2 separate regions of the Homo sapiens genome follow, and region 2 is linked to region 1. The links are contacts of gene promoters, found by promoter capture Hi-C in blood cells and fetal thymus (Javierre and others, 2016). All regions are on one chromosome and are shown on one strand. Each heading gives the region's core, a stretch centred on a gene start or on the middle of the fragment in contact. The rest is flanking DNA. Distances are from core to core; before and after follow the strand shown.

The links. Contacts are between HindIII fragments. The CHiCAGO score rates a contact against its expected background, and 5 or more counts as called.
Region 2: a contact is called between the fragment with the promoter of EYA3 here and the fragment with the promoter of YTHDF2 in region 1, in 1 of 17 cell types (fetal thymus). The highest score is 5.0, in fetal thymus.

What each region holds. Positions count from the first base shown.
Region 1 is chr1:28,733,805-28,739,451 of GRCh38, forward strand. YTHDF2 (YTH N6-methyladenosine RNA binding protein F2) reads left to right here and starts at 3,136. Exons shown (of 5, transcript NM_016258.3): 1 at 3,136-3,343; 2 at 3,854-3,878; 3 at 4,455-4,534. The coding sequence starts at 3,317. RefSeq lists enhancers at 1,053-1,952, 2,483-2,532, 2,852-3,750, 3,633-3,742. The HindIII fragment of the contact is 4,406 bases long and covers 2,198-5,647 here.
Region 2 is chr1:28,086,027-28,091,673 of GRCh38, forward strand. EYA3 (EYA transcriptional coactivator and phosphatase 3) reads right to left here and starts at 2,584. Exons shown (of 18, transcript NM_001990.4): 1 at 2,498-2,584. RefSeq lists enhancers at 2,184-2,243, 2,454-2,523. The HindIII fragment of the contact is 6,678 bases long and covers 1-2,704 here.

The DNA of each region.
Region 1 (5,647 bases), core at 1,886-4,385:
ATCCGCCCGCTTCGGCCTCCCGCAGTGCTGGGATTACAGGCGTGATCCACCGTGCCTGGCCAGCACATGTTGTTCTTTTGTTTCCCTTCTCTCCTTGCCTGGCCTGTTTCTCCTCATCCTTTATGTTTTAGCTGAAGCTCATCTCCTCAGGGAAACCTTCCCTAGCTCCTCTGAGGAGGTTATACCTGTCTGTACTTCCTCATTGCACTTTCCACAACTGTAATTGAACAACTATTTGAATAGCTATTTTCATAGTCTCAGTTTCCCTGGCTAGTCTGCTTCAAGGAGAAATGAACTTTCTCCCCAGCACACTGCCTGGCCCTCAATAAATATTTGTTGAAAGAGAGACTGAATGCTTCATTTACCCAGCGGCAGAGCTGAACCTAGAATCTAAACATTTCCAGTACAGTATTATTTTCTTCAAACCATGAAATGACACCACATATTCCAACTTCCCCTCTCTCTTTCCAGTGATTAAATATTATCAGTCTTCTGGGTTCTGTTTCTTCAGGGGCCTGTTAAAAGCCATCATGGTAAACGAATCCAGGTTTAGAGATTACCCTTTTCCTAAGGATAATTTGCATTTTAACTGGGAACTTCTGGCAAACAGAAAGTCATCCCAAAGGAACTAATAAAAACTCCTGGCACCATTCTTTCTTGGAGGGAAAGAATTTTTACTTAAATCGCTTAATGGGATTATAGGAAATGAACTTACACTGTGCCACACATGCTTTAATGTCAGCTTTTAAAAAAATTTTAATTTTACTTATTTTATTTACTTTTTTGAGACAGAGTCTCGCTTTATCACCCAGGCTGGAGTACAATTGCGCGATCTCGGCTCACTGCAAGCTCCGCCTCCTGTGGTCAAGTGATTCTCCTGCCTCAGCCTCCCGAGTAGCTGGGATTCCAGGGGCCCACCACCACGCTCAAGCTAATTTTTGTATTTTTAGTACCGACGTGGTTTCACCGTGTTGGGCAGGCTAGTCTTGAATTCCTGACCTCGGGTGATCTGCCCTCCTCGGCCTCCCAAAATACTGGGATTACAGGCGTGAGCCACCGCACCCGGCTTTTTTTTTTTTTTTTAAAGTTTATCTTCACGACAAACCTGTTGGGTAGGTATCATTATCCATCATCCCCTTTATCAAATGAGGGAATCTAAGAAAGGTTTTAGTTGTTTACCCAGTATTGCACATCTGGGTGGGGAAACCATTATTTAGACCCTTTGTCTCCCAGCATATGACTTCTCGTCTAATGCTGTTTTTACAATGCCATGTTGCCTCCAAGGGTAAGTATAGGCAACCGCTTACAGTTTATACATAAATCTGGGCCATGGAGCTAAGTGGCTGATTATTATTATTTGTTATTTATTTATTTATTTATTTTGAGACGAGTCTCGCTCTGTTGCCCAGGCTGGAGTGTAATGGCGTGATCTCGGCTCACTGCAACCTCTGCCTCCCGGGTTCAAGCGATTCTCCTGCCTCAGCCTCCGATTAGCTGGGACTACAGGTGCATGGCACCATGCCCAGCTAATTTTTGTATTTTTAGTAGAGTCGAGATTTCACCATGTTGGCCAGGATGGTCTCGATCTTCTGACCTCATGATCCGGCCCGCCTTGGCCTCCCAAAGTGCTGGGATTACAAACATGAGCCACCGCGCCCGCCGTAGCCGAGTATCTTTAAAAAGAAGTATTACTAGGTTTATTCTATTCCCTTGATGGAATCTATGCTCCCAGACTTGACATTTTACTGTCTCCATTAAAAGTCCTTCACCTTTGGTGCCTGACCTTACTCATTCCTACCATAAATGTGATTATGGGCAGAGAAAAAAAGTGCTTTGAGCACTTTGACCAAATTATGATGTTAAATCCAAGATGCCATGTTATTTATTTTACCGAGTCCACCCAAGCCTCCTATATCCAGCGTGTGGATAGTACGAGGTTGACAATTAGTGCATTAGTTACCTGTTTACCACGACGTACTTGCAATAACAAAAGCTATTAGATGGGCTTTCCTAGTATCAAATATTCCTGCATGAGTTGGCTTTGCTTCTGATTGAAAATACTTTTGCCCATCCTTTGCATCTCCCCTATATTCTGGTTCCCTAATACAGAGTCTCGTAGGGGTAGAGAGATACCATTATGTTAGTGTCAGATACACCTGGCTATTTAATAGTTTTGTAAACTTGGGCACATTACTTAAGCTTTCTGTTTTTCCAGTCGTAAAAAACCGAAAGACTGATAGCGATTTTGAAGTTGTCGAAAGACTTTAATGTGTTTGAAAATACCTAACAACAAAGCCTGGCCCACAGCTGGTATTTCAATAATGTTAATTTCCTTGCTTCCCTCTTGAGGTCCTTAAGATTCATAGGTTCTCCGGACTCCTTGAAAGTTTTGTGTAGATGCATGAGGTGTATTTTTCTTGGAAATAAAGTCCACAATTTAACAGATTATCTTGGGGCCAGCGATTTCCCCGAAAATAAATTGTAGATTCTCCTTCCTGCAATGCTAAGGGGTGAATCTCTTTTGCGGGAGACTGGATTCTTTCGGTGTGTGTTTTGCTCTCTGGGTACTCTTTCTGTAGTCGGCTAACAGAGGATGACCAAGCCCCTCGCGGGGGCGGGGGCGGGTCACTCCCGGACAGGGCCCCCATGAAGTTTCCCTGGGGACTGTGTGACTCCCTAGGGGTCGGGTTACCTCCCAGATGGGGGTGGGGTATCACTTGCAGCTGGAAGGCAGGTTCATTTTAAGGTCTCGCGGGCTTCGGAGGCCCCTCCCTCACTGAGAAACCGGCTTTTGTCGTTCTTCTGAAGCCAGAGCTAGTCTTTCCAGGTGTTAGTCGAAACCTCGTGGTGCGACCCTGGTCGTCCCAAACCCCCTAGGCCTTAATCCTGGGGCGGTGGGGGCGGGGAGGCCGTGAGCACGGCTTCCGCTCCTCCAATCCGCCAGAGGGCGCAGCGGCCGGCCTCTCCCTTCCCGGGGTTCTTCGCGCCGGGCCCCTTCCGCGTGGGTGAGTGAATGTGAGAGTCAGCGCTCGCGCCGCGCGCGCCGCCCGCCTCCGCTGTTCGGCGCTCTGCTTTAGGCGGTGGGGGGCGGGCGCGCGCGTAAAAGCATAGAGACGGGCATTGAGCTCTTGGGCTAGAGCGTCGCCGAGTCGGAGCCGGAGCCTGAGCCGCGCGCTGTGTCTCCGCTGCGTCCGCCGAGGCCCCCGAGTGTCAGGGACAAAAGCCTCCGCCTGCTCCCGCAGACGGGGCTCATCTGCCGCCGCCGCCGCGCTGAGGAGAGTTCGCCGCCGTCGCCGCCCGTGAGGATCTGAGAGCCATGTCGGCCAGCAGCCTCTTGGAGCAGGTACAGGCCCGGCCCGCATGCCTCGGCCATTGTGTGAGGCGAGAAGGAGCCCGACTAGGCCCGGGCCCGCCGCTCCTGGGCAGGCCGAGCCGAGCCGAGGCGTCGTCTCTTGCGGGCCAGGTTTCGGGCCTCTCAGGCCGGCCGCGCCCGGCGCCTCTCCCTCAGCCTGTTCTTCCCGCTTCTCCTCGGGCCTCGGAGCCCACGGGCCGGGCCGCGCCGCGTTCCCTTCTCTCGGCGGGCCTCGTTTTCCTTCCTTGTTTCCTTCCCCTTCCTTAAAGCCCTGGGTTCCTCGCGTCGCCGGTGGCGCGTCTGCCGCGTTTTCTCCCCTGCCCCACGGGCCTGGCGCTTTCCCCCGCCTCCCATTTTCAGCCTCTTCCTCACTACCATTCCTGACGCCTCCCCTCGGGCCTGCTCCTTTATTCTCCCTTCGGGCCCTGCCTTAATTTGTTCTTCCTTTTCCATTTCTCCTTTGGACAACTTGCTGCTCGGCGACGTTTCCTTCCCCTGCAGAGACCAAAAGGTCAAGGAAACAAAGGTAAGTCCCGCTCCGCCGGTGGCCCTGAGCCGGGAGGGGGACGCGGGGCGGTGGGGGCGGGGTCTCCGGGAAGCGCCCCGGGCGGAGGACCTTTCGGAAGCCGCTTAGTTCGCAGGTGCCGCACACTTAAGTATTTTGACCCTTTCGGTGTGTTCTTGCAGCTGGCGAACAGCTTTTTCGCTAACAAGGAGTAATTCATTAAGGGTGGGGGTGGATTGGGTTTTGAAACGCTCCAGGTCCTTAGTTTCCTGTAGGTCTTAGAAGGCCTTTGTTTTTCATCCTCGTGGATCACTCTCTGGAAGTACTCTCATGTGATGGGGGAGGGGAAGCGGGAGGGAATGGAAATCCAGAGGAGCCAATAAAATGACCTTTTTAGATCAACTTGCTCTGGGTGGAGGGGGACATTTTCACTGGCGACTGTCGCTTCAGCATTCACTGTCATCTCTTACCCTTTTGAAGTTCAATCTTACGTGCTTTGTTAACTAGTAAGGTTTTTCTCTGGTTAGCATATATGAACTAATTTGAAAGGAAGATTGTAGGATTGGGACACTCCTAATTGAATTTTTTTTTCTTTAGTACAAAATGGATCTGTACATCAAAAGGATGGATTAAACGATGATGATTTTGAACCTTACTTGAGTCCACAGGCAAGGCCCGTGAGTAGTTAACTATTTACATATCTAATCGAAGGGTGTGGTATATTCTTTCTCCGCCTTCTACCAATAAATCCCATTTTCTGAGGATTCATTTTTTTTTCTTTTTTCTGTTTTCTGTTTTTTTGAGACTGAGTCTCGCTCTGACGCCCAGGCTGGGGTGTAGTGGCGCAATTTCGGCTCGCTCCAACTTCCGCCTCTCGGGTTCAAGCGAATCTCCTGTCTCAGCCTCCCGAGTAGGTGGGATTACACGTGTGCACCACCGCACACAGCTAGTTTTTCTATTTTTTTAGTAGAGACGGGGTTTCATGTTGGCCGGGCTGGTCTTGAACTCCTCAGGTGATTCACCCGCCTTGGCCTCCCAAAGTGCTGGGATTACAGGCGTGAGCCACCACGCCTAGCCGAGGATTCACTTTCTTAATACCTGTATTTTTTCTCTGCCCTCTATCAGGAAATCCCATGTTCTGAGGGTTCACCTCCTTAATACCTATTAATGTATTATAAAACAGTTAACTGCAAATGTCCTAGGCCGTTGAGATTCCCATCTCTGTAATATCAGCAACCATACTGTATTGAGAACGTAATACTGATAACACTCTACTGGCAGTAACATGTGCATGAATAATTGTCTTCTTCCTTACCAAGAATGTAGCAGTGCAGAATTTAGGGATTCTTACAGTGTTAAATATTCTGAATTTTCACCCCAGAGAACTTTGGATTCATATGATAGGGAAAGTTCTAATGTAAAATCACCTGAAGGCGGGAAGATCTCTTGAGCCCAGAAGTTTGAAGCTGCAGTGAGCTATCTACGATCATACCTGTGAAAAGCCACTGCGCTCCAGCCTTGGTGACAGAACAAGATCTGGTCTCTAAAAAATAGTCACCTGAACTTCATTCAGTGCTGCAGGACTGGCTGTCTTTCTTTTCTCTAGTTTATGGGTTCTTAGATTATCAGAACTATTTCGGAGTTAGGAAATTTTTTTTTTTTTTTTTTTGAGACGTAGTGTCAACTCTTGTCACCCAGGCTGGAGTGCAGTGGTGCAATCTCGGCTCACTGCAACCTCTGCCTACCAGGTGATTTTGCCCGCCTCAGCCTCCCAAGTAGCTGGGACCACC
Region 2 (5,647 bases), core at 1,334-3,833, 650 kb before region 1:
ATCCATGTCACAGATTTCTTATCCTAATAGTCTCATTCATATATGACATATACTGAAATGACCCACTAAATACTATATTGTGCTTTCCAGCCTACAGCTTTAATGGAATTAACACTCGCTACTCTTGAGAGCATGTATAGGACTTCTTGACTTAAAAAAAAATGACCTTGGAAATTAACTGTTTAAGTTGTAATTTCTTTTTTTTTTTTAAGAGAGTCTCACTCTGTTGCCTTGTGGAGCGCAGTGATGTGATCACAGCTCACTGTAACCTCAAAATCTTGGGCTCAAGCAATCCTCCAACCTCAACCTCCTGAGTAGTTGGGACTACAGGCGCACACCACTACACCAAGCTAATTTTGTCTATGTTGCCCAGGTTGGTCTCGAACTCCTGGCCAATCCTCTGGCCTTGGCCTTCCAAAGTGCTGGGGATTATAGGTGTGAACCACCATGCCAGACCTAAACCCTAATTTCTTTATGTTTTGTAAATAAGAGTGCCACTTCTTACTAGTGACAATGGTATATAATCTTTATAACTAGATTTTATTATTTTCTATTGTTTTGAAGACAGAGTGATTTCCCATCATTTTTGGGGTTTAATGTTCTTATCTTAATCTGCATTAATTAAGCTGGCATTCCCATGGCTTAAATGAAGCCCACAAACCTGAAGGTAAGGAAGCAGCTGGAGTAAGCCATACACATTGGGGTTTGTTTTGAAGGATGGAAAATAGGCCAGGTTGGACAGAAGCTAGAGCTAGGTAGTGGGGAGGAGGTACACATAAGAAACTTTCAAAGAGGCTTCACTTAGCAGTTAGATAAGTCCTGAAAGCCAATCAGAAGGGTCCTTCTCCGTGGCTTCTAGGACTAACATGGCCAAGCTCCAAAGTCCTTTGCTAAAAACAGCTGAAGAGAGCCCAATTTTGGAATAAGCCAAGGACTATACACTCTTATATGTATATGTATCATATAATGAAGATTTTTCTATAGCTAATTAGCCAAAAGATAAGCAGGTGCTCAAAGCTGTATTTAAGTTCATACTGAAGTACTACATTTTAAAGCACAATTTATAGATTACAGAAACTGATGACACAAAAACCGCTGCAATCAAGTGCTAGATATACACTATAAACATCGGGAAAAAATAAAGATTACCCAAGCCTATACTCTAGATCACAAAATTTGGGAAAGGGAGCACTAACCATTATTAAATGCAATTCCTTCATGTTATAAATGACTTTAAACCTCTAGGGAAATTTAAGAAAGGTGCCCTAAATCTCAAAATGAGAAAATGATAGTTTTACTACAAAGGTGGAAATGGTAAGGAAAAAAAAATACAAAAGTTAGAAGAATATTCTAAGTAATGTACTTCTAAGTAATGTAATTCTAAGTAAAGTCTGGCTAATGAAGGAAGAGGAAGACAAATAGAAAACTTAATACAGTAAAAATGAAAAAATGCATATGTGCATACTAAGTTTAAAGATTACTTTGAAATTACTATAGTGAACTCTTCAGCAGACCACTTTTCGGAAACAACACAATAAATTCATAAATCTGGGGCTAATGATCTCTCCACAAATTCTGTCCTCTATCATCACAAGTGTCCTGTAAGAAGCGTCCATGCCGAAAACAGAGCTGAACGTCCCAAAATATTGGCGTTTTTGCCTCAGCTGTGCACATCCATTCTCATGGGAACACAAAACTGACAGAACTTCTTCATGACTTGTCAATTAACAAGATCGCGCCAGCCCAACTGCTAGCAGTACCGTGTGCCTGCCACCTGTTAGCTGCTCTTGAGAGAGCCCCAAAACTGAGGTAAAGCGAAGAACTAGGAACGCCTTTGTTGTACCCTAACTATGGAAGCTACCAGAGTTCAGTCTAACCCGGCGCCTTAAGGCAAAACTTCCCCCAGGCTGGGGAAGTCTTCCCATTTCGGGGCTTTGGCAAAGCTCTCCTCTAGCTAAGGACAGGCAGAAGAACCCCAGGAGAAGCACTGTCACCTACTGGTCCCAGGAGGAAGGATCAAAGCTGAAGAAAGTTGGGGGACAAGGAACTAGGACCCTAGGGAGAGGCTCAGTTTCTCGTGGTGAAGAGTGAGCACAATGAGAAGCTGGGCCGTCTCGCTAGGTGAAAGAACGCTGAGATCCCAGATCAGGGGTAGGGGAAAAGAGGTTCTAAAAGAAGGGAGGAGGAGAAAAAAGGAGAGGCAGTGGCTGAGAGAAGCGCTGAGGCGTAAGGCAAGAAACCGAGGTTGGAAAAGGACTGATGAGGCTGAGGAAAAACAGCGAGGCGACAGAGGCACGGAAGCGCGAGAAGGCTAAGCTGAGGTGAATAAGGCGAGGCCAGCGTGAAGGAAAGGGCTGAGGTGAGTGAAGCACTGCAGTGACAAGGGACAGGCGAAGAGACTCCCACCCACAAGGACCGAGGCAGAACTCTAGACCCATCCCCCTTCACGCTGTGCTCGCCCGGCTGCGCTCAGACCCTGTTGGCAGCTGAGACTCACCCAAAGGCTGTAAAAGCCCCACAACAGGACATGGAGATCAGTCCAGACCCACAGTAGAACCAATCGAGCGGAGGAAACCGCGGCGTTAGCGTGACCCGGATGCGCATCGCTAGGAACCGGAAGTAAGCGGCCAGAGTCACCTCACAATCCACACCTCGTTCCACTAGAAACCTCTGGGCGCATGTGTTGAGTCTGACCGGGCGGGGAAGCTTTTAGGCTCCGCCCACTCCGCCGGCCCGGCGAGCCACGCCCATGGCCACGCCCCTCTTAGTGCCTCGGAGACAAGCAGCTTCTGGGTGAGCGCTAGGCAGTCCTGACGGTACTACAGCCTTCACTTTTAAGGAGGTCTTTAAAAATGCGCGTAATCCCTACCTGGCTAAAAGGAACGTAAGAAGTGTTGGGTGCATTTGGTAGATTTAGAAAAACTGGGAAGGAGAATGAGTGGGAAGTTTTGGAAGACATTTGGGAGGCTAGCCCAAGGTGATCTTTTTTTTTTTTTTTTTTTGAGACGGAGTTTCGCTCTTGTTGCCCAGGCTGGAGTGCAATGGCGCGATCTCGGCTCACTGCAACCTCCGCCTCCCGGGTTCAAGCGATCCTCCTGCCTCAGCCTTTCGAGTAGCTGGGATTACAGGCATGTGCCACCACGCCCGGCTAATTTTGTAGTTTTAGTAGAGACGGGGTTTCTCCATGTTGGTCAGGCTGGTCTTGAACTCCCGACCTCAGGTGATCCGCCCGCCTGGGCCTCCCAAAGTGCTGAGATTACAGGCGTGAGCCACCGCGCCCATCCCTTTTTTTTTTTCTTTTTTTGAGACAGAGTCTTGCTCTGTCGCCCAGGCTGGAGTGCAGTGGCGCGATCTCGGCTCACTGCAACCCCCGCCTCCTGGGTTCAAGTGATCCTCCCACCTCAGCCTCCCGAGTAGCTAAGACTACCGGCGCGCACCACCACGCCCGGCTAATTTTTGTATTTTTCGGTAGAGACGGGGTTTCGCCATGTTGCCCAGGCTGGTCTCCAACTCTGGAGCTCGGTTGATCCCTTGGCCTCCCAAAGTGCTGGGATTACAGGCGTGAGCCCCAAGGTGATCTTTTTATCCCCAAATTTAGTTTATTCTTAATATTATATTAGGCTTACAATTCACTTCGTGCACACTGTTTTCGGAAGCAAAATTCTTAAATGTTTCGTTAATTTTAAATTACAACCCAAGTATGGGCTAGAAGCAAGGTTGAATTCAGGCTTTGTGGAGACTTGACGTTTATTCAATTTGGGGGCCCTCTTTAAAATAATCAAGGCCAGGCACAGTGGCTCATGCCTGAAATCCTAGCACTTTGGGACGCCGAGGTCGACCGGTTGCTTGAGCCCCGGAGTTGGAGATCACCTGGGCAACAAAATTAGACCCTGTCTCTACAAAACAAACAAAGCAAAACAACAACAAAAAAAACCCAGAAAAATTAGCCAGGTGTGGTGGCACGCACCTAACTGAGCCCAGGAGGTAGAGGCTGCGGTGAGTTATGATTATGCCACTGCACTCCAGCCTGGGCAACAGAGCGAGACTGTCTAAAAAAAAAAAAAATCCAAAATTACAAATACAATATTAGATATAAAAGTGAACCTTTTATAATGAGAAAAATTACAAACATTTTTATTAGCTCACAAATACCACGAATAACAAAATCCAGAAAAAAAACTATTTTTTCTACATTTTTTGACTGTATATTTGATCACCTCTTCCGATGACAACAATGTACTAAGCAACATCATTTACTAAGATCCTTAACTCCTCTCTCATATCCCACATGTACTCCATCAGCAAGTTCTGCAAGATTTGCCTTCAAAATCTGTCCAGAACCTGACCATTTACTGCCTCCGTTGGTATAAACCAGTCAGTCAGTGACTGTGAGTGCCCTATTTATACTCTTGCCTTCCCACAATCTTTTTTTTTTTTTTTTTTTCAGACAGAGCCTCCCTCTGTCACCCAGGCTGGAGTGTACTGGCCTGATCTTGGCTCAGTGCAACCTCTGCCTCCTGGGTTCTCCTGCCTCAGCCTCCTGAATAGCTGGGATTACAGGGGCCCGCCAGCACGCGCGGCTAATTGTTATATTTTTAGTAGAGACGGGGTTTTGCCATGTTGGCCAGACTGGTCTTGAACTCCTGGCCTCAAGTGATCCACCCGCCTCAGCCTCCCAAAGTGCTGGGATTACAGGTGTGAGCCTCCACGCCCGGCCCCCACAATCTATTAATATAGTAGCAATGGGCTCCTGTTAAAACCCTAATTAGATCATATCCTTCCTCCAATGCATTCCTATTTCAGAGTAAAAACCAAAATCCTTACATTGGTCTACAGGACCCTCAAGATTTGACACCTCCAGTACAGCTCTGCTCTAACCTCAACTCCTACTCCTTCTGTCATCCTTCCCCTTAAAGCACATTGGCCTCTGCCATTCCTCAAAACTACAGGTAGGCCCAGGGCCTTTGTGCTTTTTAATCCATCTGCCTGGAGTGCTCTTCCCCCAGATACCTGCATCATTCATCCGCTCACCTCATTTACATCTTTATTCACATGTCACTTTCTCAATGAGATCTTCCCTGACACTACATTAAAAATTGGAACACTACCATCCTCTTTGTACTTTCCCATCCAACAAGTTGCTTGTAAATTTGGCTTAGTGTCTCTCTCCCCCTGCCAGAATGTAAGTTCCATGAGTCCATGGATGTTTGTCCGATTTGTTCACGGATGTTTTTTCAGCACCAGAATGGAGCCTGGCACACTGTAGGCACTCAGTAAATGTTTGTTGAATGAAGGGCTAAATTGCTCATTTACTTTGGTTTTCCTGATCTGAAACCCTGCAAACTGAGCCACCACCTCCACCAGAGGGAGCCCATGAGTAATCAATGCAATAGCTCCAGAAAAGTTATGCCTAAAGCATTTACATACATATACACTCTGTTTAAGGACAGGAATATGTTCTGAGAAATCCCTCGTTAGGTAGTTTCATCATTGTGCGAACATCGTAAAATGGACTTATACACACCTAAGCTATATGGTATAACCTATTGCTCCTAGGCTATAAATCTGTATAGCATATGACTGTACTGAATACTGTAGGCAATTGTAACACAATGGCAAGTATTTGTGTATTTAAACATATAAAAAC